Regions from separate parts of the Homo sapiens genome. Here region 2 is linked to region 1. The links are contacts of gene promoters, found by promoter capture Hi-C in blood cells and fetal thymus (Javierre and others, 2016). All regions are on one chromosome and are shown on one strand. Each heading gives the region's core, a stretch centred on a gene start or on the middle of the fragment in contact. The rest is flanking DNA. Distances are from core to core; before and after follow the strand shown.

Region 1 (5,603 bases), core at 1,309-3,808:
ATGCCTTCATGCTCATCTAATTATTTTTGATGTTATTTTTCATAGCGATGGGGTCTCCATATGTTGCTCAGGATGGTCTAGATCTCCTGGGCTCAAGCACTCCTCTGGCTCTGCCCTCCCAAGGTGCTGGCATTGTAAGTATGAGCTTCTGTACCCAGCCAAAAGTTTTGTTACATATCAAACATAATGTAGAATGATCTAAGGCTCTTCATCTCACAGGATGATAACGTTTACTTTCTAGCTGTGAATCAAGGTTATCTTTGGCCACTCCTATCAGCTTCAAAAGGAGAATACTAAAATTACCCACTTACAGATTTGCTCATATGATCACTGAGTAAATAACTGCCAAATGCTTGTAGCAATGTCTGGCACATAATACCCACTGAATATGTGTTAACTATCATTCTTGTTATTAGTAATAGTATTTTAATTACTACCGCTACTGCCACTAGTTGTCTTTGTGTTGATTTAATAACCCATTACTAATAGTTATAGAAATTACTGGCCAACCAACCAGTGAGTTCCATGAAAACTGTCAAACCAGAATGATACATAATCATTGACCCATTAGGAATTATTATTAAAAATACAAAAATATAAAATTGTCATTAAATATAGTTAAGATGGGATACTCCTGGCAGTGGACAATTAGCTAAGTTAATTTTTTCTGTAAATATAATATAAAAGAAATAGATATCAGTCCCATGTTTATCAAATATGAATAAACAAAATTCTACCTACTATTCATTATGCAAATTTGAATAAGTTGAATTTATCTTTGTTAATACCCTTGCTTATTTAACTAGGTGCTGATCCTGTTGTTTTCATTACATCCAATTTGCTTGTGGCTGATGAACCTGAACATTTTAATGCCTTTGCAAACAAAGTGAAACTCACTCAGTGGGGCAGTTTCCCAGAATTTTCTGGCCCTGTTAGAATCCCAGCCCTTTCAGAGAGGAAGGTGATGGGTGGGTCTACACTAAGGATGGGGAACCTGTGATCTAGGCCCAGTTTGCAGCCTAAGTAATAATTTTACTGTGTCAGGTTGCTCTGACTCTTACTACAGGTGGAGTCTCTATTCAAAACTGGAAGAGTTGAAGAGCTGTAAATAATGTTAACCAGCATTAGCATAATCAGCATTAGCTAATAATGGCCACAGGCAACTGAAATGCATTGGTTGTACTTAACTAAAGTACATTCGGTAAGTTTTTTACCCAAACTTTATAAGGATTAACTTGAGATTTCTTAGATCCCTAACAGAAAAACAAGGACACCAAAATTTATTTTCTGTGTGTTTATAATCTTCAAATACTTTTTAAATTCCATTATTGAATTTGGTTTGAAGAGAAAAATATAGTTATATCTATGCCTGAATAATATAATAAAGTAAAATATTTAGTCAGCTATCCAGATATATGCTGTAAAAAAAAACAATATAAGCTAATATTTGTAAACATCTTTACATTTGTTATTATCTAGAAAAACTATCAAGATGATACATACCTGACCAAGGATAATTTTTTTTTCCATCTGAGTATCTGAACATCTTGAAGATCCAATTACAGTGCTGCCTGAGCAACTGACCAAGCAGACTTCCAGACACCAGCCCAGGGAGTGAAGATCTTGGTTCTTTTGGTGAACCAGAAATCCTCTATAGGATTCTTGTATTAACACTTACTGAGAAACAGGACTTTCTTCTTTGGTTTATCTCATGAGTTACACAGGCTGATTACCACAGCTCCATATGACAAAAGCAAGCTATTTCTTCACACATGTTTCATTCATTCTGCTGGCAGTGAATTTTAACTCACTATTTTAATTCTCATTACATGTCCTTCCTTTTCTGAAGTCAAAGATTATTTGGTTGGATATAAATAGATACATAAAATCTGTATATGATACAGATATATGATTATGATAACTATACACTGAAGGCTTGGTTTTTGGTATAAAAATATTTTTTAAAAAGCAGACAAAATAGTCATATTTTGACACAGAGCAGGTATTTTTGGAAGTTTTCTTTCTTAGGAATATTAATATCTAGAATTAATATCTGGTTTTTCAGCATATTAAGAAATCTGAGTTCTGACAGGTCTAAAAATTCTAAGCATCCAATTGTAAAAACAGAACTTAATAAATAAACACTGACATCATTGGAGTTTATGTTTACATGAAGGTGAATATAGAAAGTTAAATGGATCTATTTGTATATCCTATGGCCATAGAAACATTTCTAATACTTTATAGCTATATATATTTAAATTAATACCTAAATATATAACATAGCAAAATAAAACATGAAAGTTACAGCACAAAAATTGATACAGGGTTGCTCTTTATTTTGGAGAAGAATGCAAAATTATGATGTTGGCTAGATAGTAATAAAGAGATTAAACTGCTTTTAAATGCTGAAAATGAAACTGTAATATAGGCAAACTATCAAAATGGAGCAAGGACACTCACCGGCTGGTTTTCAGAGTGCTCAACGTTCAATATGTATTTTCCATGCTTTCTGTCCATTCTTGAGCTGCCAGTATCACAAGCTTCTCTCCAAGAATATTTTTCAATTTGTTCATTGCCCTTTATATCTGCAACCATGAAACAATTAAAACACTGGTGGAAGTCAACTATGATGCATCAGTACAAGTGTGGATTAAACTAAATACTAATTATTCACTAAAACAGGATCCACCTTAGAGGAGGAAATGAAATGTTAACTGCAGAAAGACGCAAGAAAACCAGTACTTCCTCTGAAAGCTTTTGTGACTACTCCCTCTGAAAACCTTACATTATTGTTCCGTCTCTCCTCTTTAGTCCCATCATTCAGGAACTCACCTTTTATTTTAGGACCGACCCCAGAAAAACGTTCTGAGATAGAAATGTATCATTGCTTGCTTTCTACTCAAGCACAAAAGCCTCTCTCCCCTTGTTGGCACCACCTCTTAGGTACCCATGACCTTAGGGACACTTCACCTTTTCAGTCCCTGGGTTGGTGTCTGGAAGTCTCTTTGGTCAGTTGCTCAAGCAATTCACACTCATTAAAAACTATTAGAATCAATTTCCTAGGCAATAATGTCAAAGGAGTGATGGAATATTGAAAATCTTTAAGAAGAGGGTTTTTTTATTTTGGTCAAAAAATCTAGTTTGTCTTAAATTGTAAAATGATCAATTCTTGTATTGGTTTATTCACTCAACAAGTGAGAATACTGTTTCAAAAGTGTGCCAGGTATGTTTGTAGTGCAGAAAGTTCCATAATAAAAAAAAATTCCTATTCTCTTTGTATATGACACTTTTGGATTCTGAATATTTTTAAAGTTTAATCTTTGAAATTTCTCTTATAAATGTATTCAATACCTTCAGCTTGTAAGTTTTACCCTCAAGCTGTAGAATATAAAGAACATGGAAAGCTGTCAAGGAATTGAAAAACTGGGAAAAAAAATTGTTCTAAAGAGGAGTTTAAAATACGATGATTTGCTACAACACAGATGAACCTTGAGGACATTGTGCTAATTGAAATAAGTCATCACAAAAAAGACAAATACTGTAAATTTCACTTATATAACATACCTAGAATAGTCAAAATCATAGAGACAGAAAGTAGAATGTTGGTTGCCAGGGGCTGGGAGGAGGCGGAAATGGGGAGTTATTGTTTAATGAATACACAATTTCAGTTTGGGATGATAAAAAGAGATCTGGAAATGGGTGGCAGTGATGGTTGCAGAATATTGTGAATGTATTTAATACTCTTAACTGTATACTTAAAATGATTAAGATAATGAACTTTGTGTTATATGTATTTTACCACAATTTAAAAAGTGAAACACAAAGAAAAACATAAAGATTTACTCTTCTTGAAGCAAAGCAAACAGCCATGGGGTACAAGGGACCAACATGGGTTGAAGGTGTCAATAATATTAAAAATGACTTTTGAAAGACTTTTTGATTGATTTTTTGATTCATTTGAAAATCAGAAGAATATAATTAAACCAATAATATATATTAATTGTATATTTTTAAAATATTACTACAATTTTATTCTGCAAAAACATTTCATTTGGCAGTAGAGCCACATAGCCACAGTGGAAGTGAAACTCCATTACTATTGATGGCATCCACACATTACATCAATGGCATAAAGAGTGGAAGATTATTCTTGTCACTGGAGTCTCACCCTCACCATCTCTAACCGGCCAAGCAGTTACATGACTCAGCCACAAAATTTGGGAGAAAATTTTAAAATTTAAAATCAAAAGGAATAGTAACATAAAAATGAGACAACACATTGTTCTATAGCTAAATATACCATGTGAAAGTCAGATTTTTATTTTGCAAAGAATATTTCTTCACCATGTATTATGAACAATTCTTTGAATGCCTCAATCTAAACCTTAACAGAAAAAGCAGAGCACACCTGGATTGTTAGCATGACAGACAGCATGGATACCTCTCATTACCTTCTCAGAGTCGCCAATAAAGGATCTTTGTTCTGAGCAGGATTTATAACCAAAAAGAAATCTGAAAGTCTTGTTGGCTGACATGTGTTTGAGAGAACTCTGATAGCTGGCCATTTTTTCCACTCTAAGGCGGCAAGGGGAGGAGGCTGTTTTTCAGTCATCCAATAAAGAAGTGAATTGGCTGTTGTCTCAAAGCCTAGGTCAAAGTTGATTTTTTAAAATCATCTTACTCAAAAATTTTCTTACCTGAAATTTTGATATGCTCTGATTATTATTTCTTTGGTCTACTGATAAACTGAGAGCCAACATGACAGCTTCGGCCATGTGATCTTAGACATTTTAGGGAAAGGGATTATTATATTTCATCTTTTTTCAGACACAGAATTTCAAAGCCTAAGTAAAATGCTGACATGCAACCCAAAAAGCATGAAAGATCCTTGTGAAAAAAATAGAAACTGAACAATACATTTCCAAACTGCCCTGTCAAAATTACCAAAGAAATTTGAACCAATCATTAAAAGTAAGAATAAAAACTGAAACATTCTGTAAATTCATATATTTTTTTCACAACACAATTAGCATGTTCTTTATTGTATTTTTTACAAAGCTGAGCCAATACTTATACCAAGTATTCCTTTACTGAATCAAAAGTAATGAAACAGTATTTAAGCAATAAAATTGGATTAGAAAAATTAGTCCTATTCAAAATAGAAACTTCAGGAGGAAAACATGTTTTGATTTACATCACTGAATTTTCCAATTCCAAATGTAAAGTTTACTTATAAATTTTAAATATGGTTATACTGACAAAGCACAGTCTTCCATTAATTTATTCCCAACTGGAGGCCGGGCGCGGTGGCTCACACCTGTAATCCCAGCACTTTGGGAGGCTGAGGTGGGCAAATCACCTGAGGTCAGGAGTTCAAGATCAGCCTGGCCAACATAATGAAACCCTGTCTCTAAAAAAATACAAAAATTAGCCGGGCATGATGACGGATGCCTGTAATCTCAGCTACTCAGGAGGCTGGGGCAGAAGAATTGCTTGAACCCAGGAGGCAGAGGTTGCAGTGAGCCGAGATCTGCTATCACACTCCAGCTTGGGTGACAGAGCAAGACTCCGTCTCAAAAAAAAAAAAAAAAAATTATTCC
Region 2 (5,603 bases), core at 1,339-3,838, 71 kb after region 1:
GCACTGGAGTTTCATAACCATCGAGTATGTGGAATTCCACCAATGTAAATCATTATTTCAGAAATATATGGAGTATATACATCATTCTGTTACTGACAAAATAATTTCAAAGTCCCTCCGTCACCATCATGAATCGATTAGCCATTGCAAGAGCCAAAGTAAGAATGAAAATGTAAATTATCATGTTCTTAAATTTTCAGTGGAAAATTCAAACTTTCACTATTTTTTCAAAGAACATATTTTGTTCATTTATTACATCTTACATCACAGGCCAACCACTAGAGTAGAGTGCACCTGGATTATTACAATGTGCAAAGAGAATACAGATATCTCTCATTGGTATGCTGAATATCTCCTACAAAAGCTTTTCATATCTGCAGAATTTTAAGCCAAAAAATTTGGAAGCCTACATTAATTAAGAATAGTTGACAGTCCTTCAATAACAGGGTTTCTTTTTTTAGCCAAAGGAATGTAGAGTCTGTTAATATGTCATCTAGCATTATAAAATGAAGCACACTATAGTCCTAAAGATTACAATGAAATTGATTTATTTATCATGTTACCCACATCAAACATTTCTGTGGCTGAGATTTCACCATGAACTGATAGTAATCAAAACATCTCTGTGTCCCTGCTTTGGTCTTTTAATGTGATGAGAATCAATATGACATCTCCACGTCTATCATCTTTAGCAATTTTTTGATGCCAGGGCCATTATTATAATTCATCATATTGTGTTGAGTGATCAAATGGTAATGAAATAAATGGATACCATATTTCAAAGGCTTCAGTACAGAATTCAGATTTACATTTCCTGTCAATTAAACTTGAAAAGATAATTGTTCAAAATGCGTGGAAGTTAAATGTCAAGTAAAAATCAAACCAGTAAAATGACTATGTGAAAAAATGATCAAGTGGAAGACTGAAAAAACCAAAACTATCTGAAAATTTGTTCAACAAATCATCTCTGTCCTACCCCTCCAATGACCACCAAAAAATGTGCCTTAAATAAATTAAGGGTTACTTTTCCTTGACTTAAGGAAAAGGCTACAAGAGGGCAGTTCAGGTGTGTGTGAGAAGTAGGAAAATAAAAGTTTCATCCCTTGTTGAAGAATGTCACTGGGGCACACTAACTGGCTGCTGTTCTACACCTGGGCGGCATCTGACTCAGCCACATCTTATTAATAATGTTATTGCCATTTCTTGTGAAGGAATGCCTCTTCCAGAGCATACCACACTGATCATATCTAATCCTCCTAATGTCTTCCTGAATTAAATGTCATTACCCCATTTTTCTGATGAAATACCAAAGCATTTAGTGATATTTTATGAGTTCTAAGGTAAGTTTGTGGCTCCCCATTCATTTACCCAAGAAGTAGTTATTAAACTCCTAGCACATTCACTGTGTCACATTAGATGCTGAGAAAAAAAAAAAAAATTGGGAAATGGGGGAAATGAAGATATATTTAGAATCTTAATCTCTTATGGATAGGAAAAAGATCAGAAAGCAACCAGAGACTCTGCCAACACATCTCAATATATTAAGACAATATGATTGTTTATTGACAGCAAGAAAGGGGTGGTGGTAATGCCCAAAAACTTGCCTGCCCACTAGCAAGAGGCTGCTGGAACTCAGACCTAAATTACATCACAGGCTGAAAATTCTCAGGGAGAAGGCAAAGTTTATTATTTTTGCAGACTCGGAACCTCTGCCCAGGGTTCAAGCAAATGATCAGCATGAGAGAAACCAACCAAAAATATCAAGGCCTTCTACAGGTGCAATTCAATTAGACAATCCTCAGGAGTCCAGGCATTCATTGACATCTACGTCACAGTCTGCCTATAGGGAGTAGGGCTCTAGCATCAGAATAGATGAGCCTCCAGCCTATAGGAACGGAAACTGGAAAAGGACAAAACAAGGCTTCCAGCCCTGTTGGAGAATGGAGGAGAACAAAGTGATTACTAAAATAGGACTCAAAGGGAAACCCAGGAAAAAGTCAGGTATAAAAACTGAGTCACACAGACAGGGCTTAGGCTTGTAACCTCTGGTATCATAATTTGATTATCAGATCTGAGGCACCATGGAATTTGGGTTGAGTCCTGATCCTGAGACCAGAATGAAAATACTAGTCATTCGTGTTGTTTGTCAAATGTTCTAGCTCTCCCTTTTCCAACACGTGATAAGGTTGCACTTTCTAGCCTTCTGTGTTTCTTCTCAGTCTCCTTGAATTCAGGTTTCTTTTGGCTACAGTTGTAAGTAAAAAATGTATTTATCACTTTGAAGCCAGAGATTTAAAACTGATGCATGTCATAAGCCATGATAGAAGACAATGTTCTACAAAAAGGCCAGGTTCCATTAGCCCAAGTTTCAGAATGAGGACAATGATAAATGAACAGAGCCCATAAGTGACCAGTAATGGGCAGATAGTGTGAGCAAGAAATAAACCTTTGTTCTTATAAATCATTGCAATACACAAGCTGTTTGTTATTGCAGCAAAACGTAGCCTGTCCAGACTAATACAGAGATCTAAGGACTCACCAGTGGGACATTATACTTCATCAGCTCACAGCTGCAACATAGGTATCAGGGCCACAGTAGATGGAGGAAGATCCTGGCACCTGATTGTTCAAAATTGAAGGTTTAACTATCTGGTCAGTGAAATCTGTCTCAGTCATGGTGGGTTGGGAATTTAGGCAGGACAGAAGCCATTGTGGGGTGCTGGAGTAGACCCTGGAAGGAGGAATATGGTGAGTATGACAGTTAAGTCATTCAGTATGTTCAGAGAGCAAAGGCAGTGACTGATGTAGAATAAAGCCAGTTGCTGATGGCTTCTTGGAAGGCGTGAATCTTGAGCCAGATCATAAAGGATATTAGAGGTTGGCAAAAAGAGCAAAAGTAGGTGTTGTAAAAGAAGAGAGTCTTTAAGAGGAAGTAGAATGGGCAAAAATAATGAATGTTGCTGAGAAAGATGCTAGCAAATACCTTGGTTGTAGAGAAGAACTACAGACAGGAGACTTCCTACTAATTGCAAGCCCTGTGCTAATGAATCTCATAAATCTCTTCCTCTGGTAAGGACAGGAGTCTCATTGCTGGCCTTCTCCATCAACTCTCCTCCAAGAATGCAGAGTGATTCTTAAATGCCATCCCATGATGCCATGCCATACTCAACACTCTGATGGATTCTTACTGCATTCAGATAAAAGTCCCAAATCTTTAACAAGGCAAAAAAGGCCCTGCAAAATCTAGCTCCATCTACCTCCTTAGCTGGCTCTGCTCTCCCCTTCAGACACATTCTTCTTTTTCATGAATTCAACAGAAGCCTGACTCAAGGTCTTCTGCTTGTGATATCTTCCCTCCACCCCTGACCAACTTCCCCAGGCTCATGCCTATTCATCTAGGCAAAATAATGACCTTCCCAAAAATGTTCACAGACTTAATCCTCACAGATAGGTTATATGACAAAGGGGAATTAAGATTAAAGGTGGAATTAAGGTTGCTAATTAGTTGACTTTAAAATAGGAAGATTATCCTGGATTATCCAAATGAGACCAATGTAATCAAAGGGTCATAAAAAGTGGAAGAGGTAGACAGAGTGAGCCTCAGAAAGAGATATGACTAAAATGATCAGAGATACACAATTTTGAGGGCTTTGAAGATAGAATAAATGGACCATGAACCAAGGAATGTAGGTAGACTCCAAAAGCTGGAAAAAAGCAAGAAAACAGGTTCTGGAGGCTCAGGGGCTCCAGAAAGAACTCAGCCCTGCCAATACCTTAACTTTATCCCAGTGAAATCCATGCTGGACTTCTAACCGTCAGAACTGCAAGATAATTAATCTGTGTTGTTTTAAGTCACTAAGTTTGTAGTATTTGCTATAGCAGCCAAAGAAACCTAATATATCATCTTCCAGGTCTCAGTGTGAATCTCACTCTCCAATTTAAATTCATTCTTCTACTTTCACAACCTCTCCAGTACTGTGTTCCTTCTTGGGACTTAGCACAGTTGGTCCTTAAACATTAATTTTGTGATCTGTTTAATATCTGTCATGCCTCTTGAATCCAAACTATCACATGGATGGGGACTGTGCAGTTTTCATCATCATTATATCTCCAACACTGGCATATGGTGGACCTTCAATGAGTATTCACTGAATAAACATAAAATAATTCTACACACCTGCAATGTATTTAACAAGTTTAAAAAATCGAAGTTCAGGAAGGTGTAGGTTGCAGATTTGGAATTCGGACATCAGTCAATCTCATATTAGACCCAGGTCTTCCCTCTAGGCCTGTGGCTGGGTCATTCATTATCCTTTTCTTAGCCGAACCTTTAGGAGTAATTATTGCTAACAGTTATTCCCTCTCAGTGAATAATTCTGTCATTAATAGCTTGTGCCTTAAAGCCACTAGAAGTTCTGCAGCTCACACTCAACATCTTTCAGATTTTACTGAGACCCACTGGCTACCACATCCATACCTGTCCCCAAACTGATCCACTTGAAACCCCAATGCTTATTCATAAAATAAAAAATAAAATAGAGGACAATAGAGAATGTTAGCCTTCTTTAATTTTGACCTTGAAATAAAGAGATGCATGTCAGGGGTTCTTCATAATTTATATTTTTTAATTAAGTGTACTGAATAAGAGTCAATCAACCAGACAACAATCAGGCAGTGTCCCTCTCTTACTGGCTTTGCCATGACCTTTCATCATGGCACACCCATGCACACATTCATTTGTGCATGTACTCAATAAGTGTTTGCTGAGCCTTTTTCTATGTCAGGCCTGTGTTAAGCCCTTCATAAGCTTTATTTTTTTTTTTCATTTAATCTCTGCAATTGCATTTACAAGCAGGTAATATTAGTGTTCCCATTTCACACCTAAGGAAACTGAGCTTCTCAGGTGTCAGAACTTGCCCAAGGTCACACAGGCAGTGAGTAATTGAGTTCCAGTTTTCCTCCTAGCAAACTTCTACTTTTCTTTCAAAACCCAGCTTCAACATACATCACTGCTTAATCGTAGCTTTTGCATGTGGCCTTGGGAAGCGCTTCCCCTGTCTTTTGTCCCCACTTCCCTCAGTCTTGCAAGTAAATGGCTCTTAGATCACTGATTTGTGATTACCTATATTTACTTCTATCTTTCTAAAATTTGAGCTCCTCGTGGTATGAAATGACAGAAAATTAATTTTTTCCACCATTATCTCTTAGCTAAAAAAATTAGTAAACTAATTAAAGGTGAAGAAAAACTCTTGACATCCATAAGGGGCCAGGAAGTGTAACTGAGGACTTTTTTTCTTTTTTTCTCTCCCATTTTTGGTAAGAATGATTCAGCCTTAAATAATATCTGAAAACTCATACAATTAAAATTAGGGAGAAAACAAAAGTGTTCCTCACCTAGCACAGTGTGAAATGACCTCAGGTCATACCTTCCCTTCTCCTCCGAGAGTCACACGAGCCACACGCCATGCAGCCATGCACGTCCTAGCTCACCCAAAGCCTACGCTGCCCTCAGGCTTCCCAGGCCCCAGAAAGGCCTCTGTCTCAGAGGGTGGAGCTGCTCACTTTTTCCAGGTAAGTGGACTCACCATAAAATTCTGGTTAGC

Evidence for each region. Contacts are between HindIII fragments. The CHiCAGO score rates a contact against its expected background, and 5 or more counts as called.
Region 2: a contact is called between a fragment that was not itself captured here and the fragment with the promoter of DYNAP in region 1, in 3 of 17 cell types (endothelial precursors, neutrophils and total B cells). The highest score is 5.9, in endothelial precursors.

Annotation. Positions count from the first base shown.
Region 1 is chr18:54,588,200-54,593,802 of GRCh38, reverse strand. It overlaps DYNAP (dynactin associated protein), which reads right to left and starts at 2,558. Exons shown (of 3, transcript NM_173629.3): 1 at 2,464-2,558. The coding sequence starts at 2,520. The HindIII fragment of the contact is 214 bases long and covers 2,546-2,759 here.
Region 2 is chr18:54,517,607-54,523,209 of GRCh38, reverse strand. No RefSeq gene overlaps it. Among named protein-coding and RNA genes, the nearest start is that of DYNAP, 71 kb to the left of the region's middle. The HindIII fragment of the contact is 4,443 bases long and covers 367-4,809 here.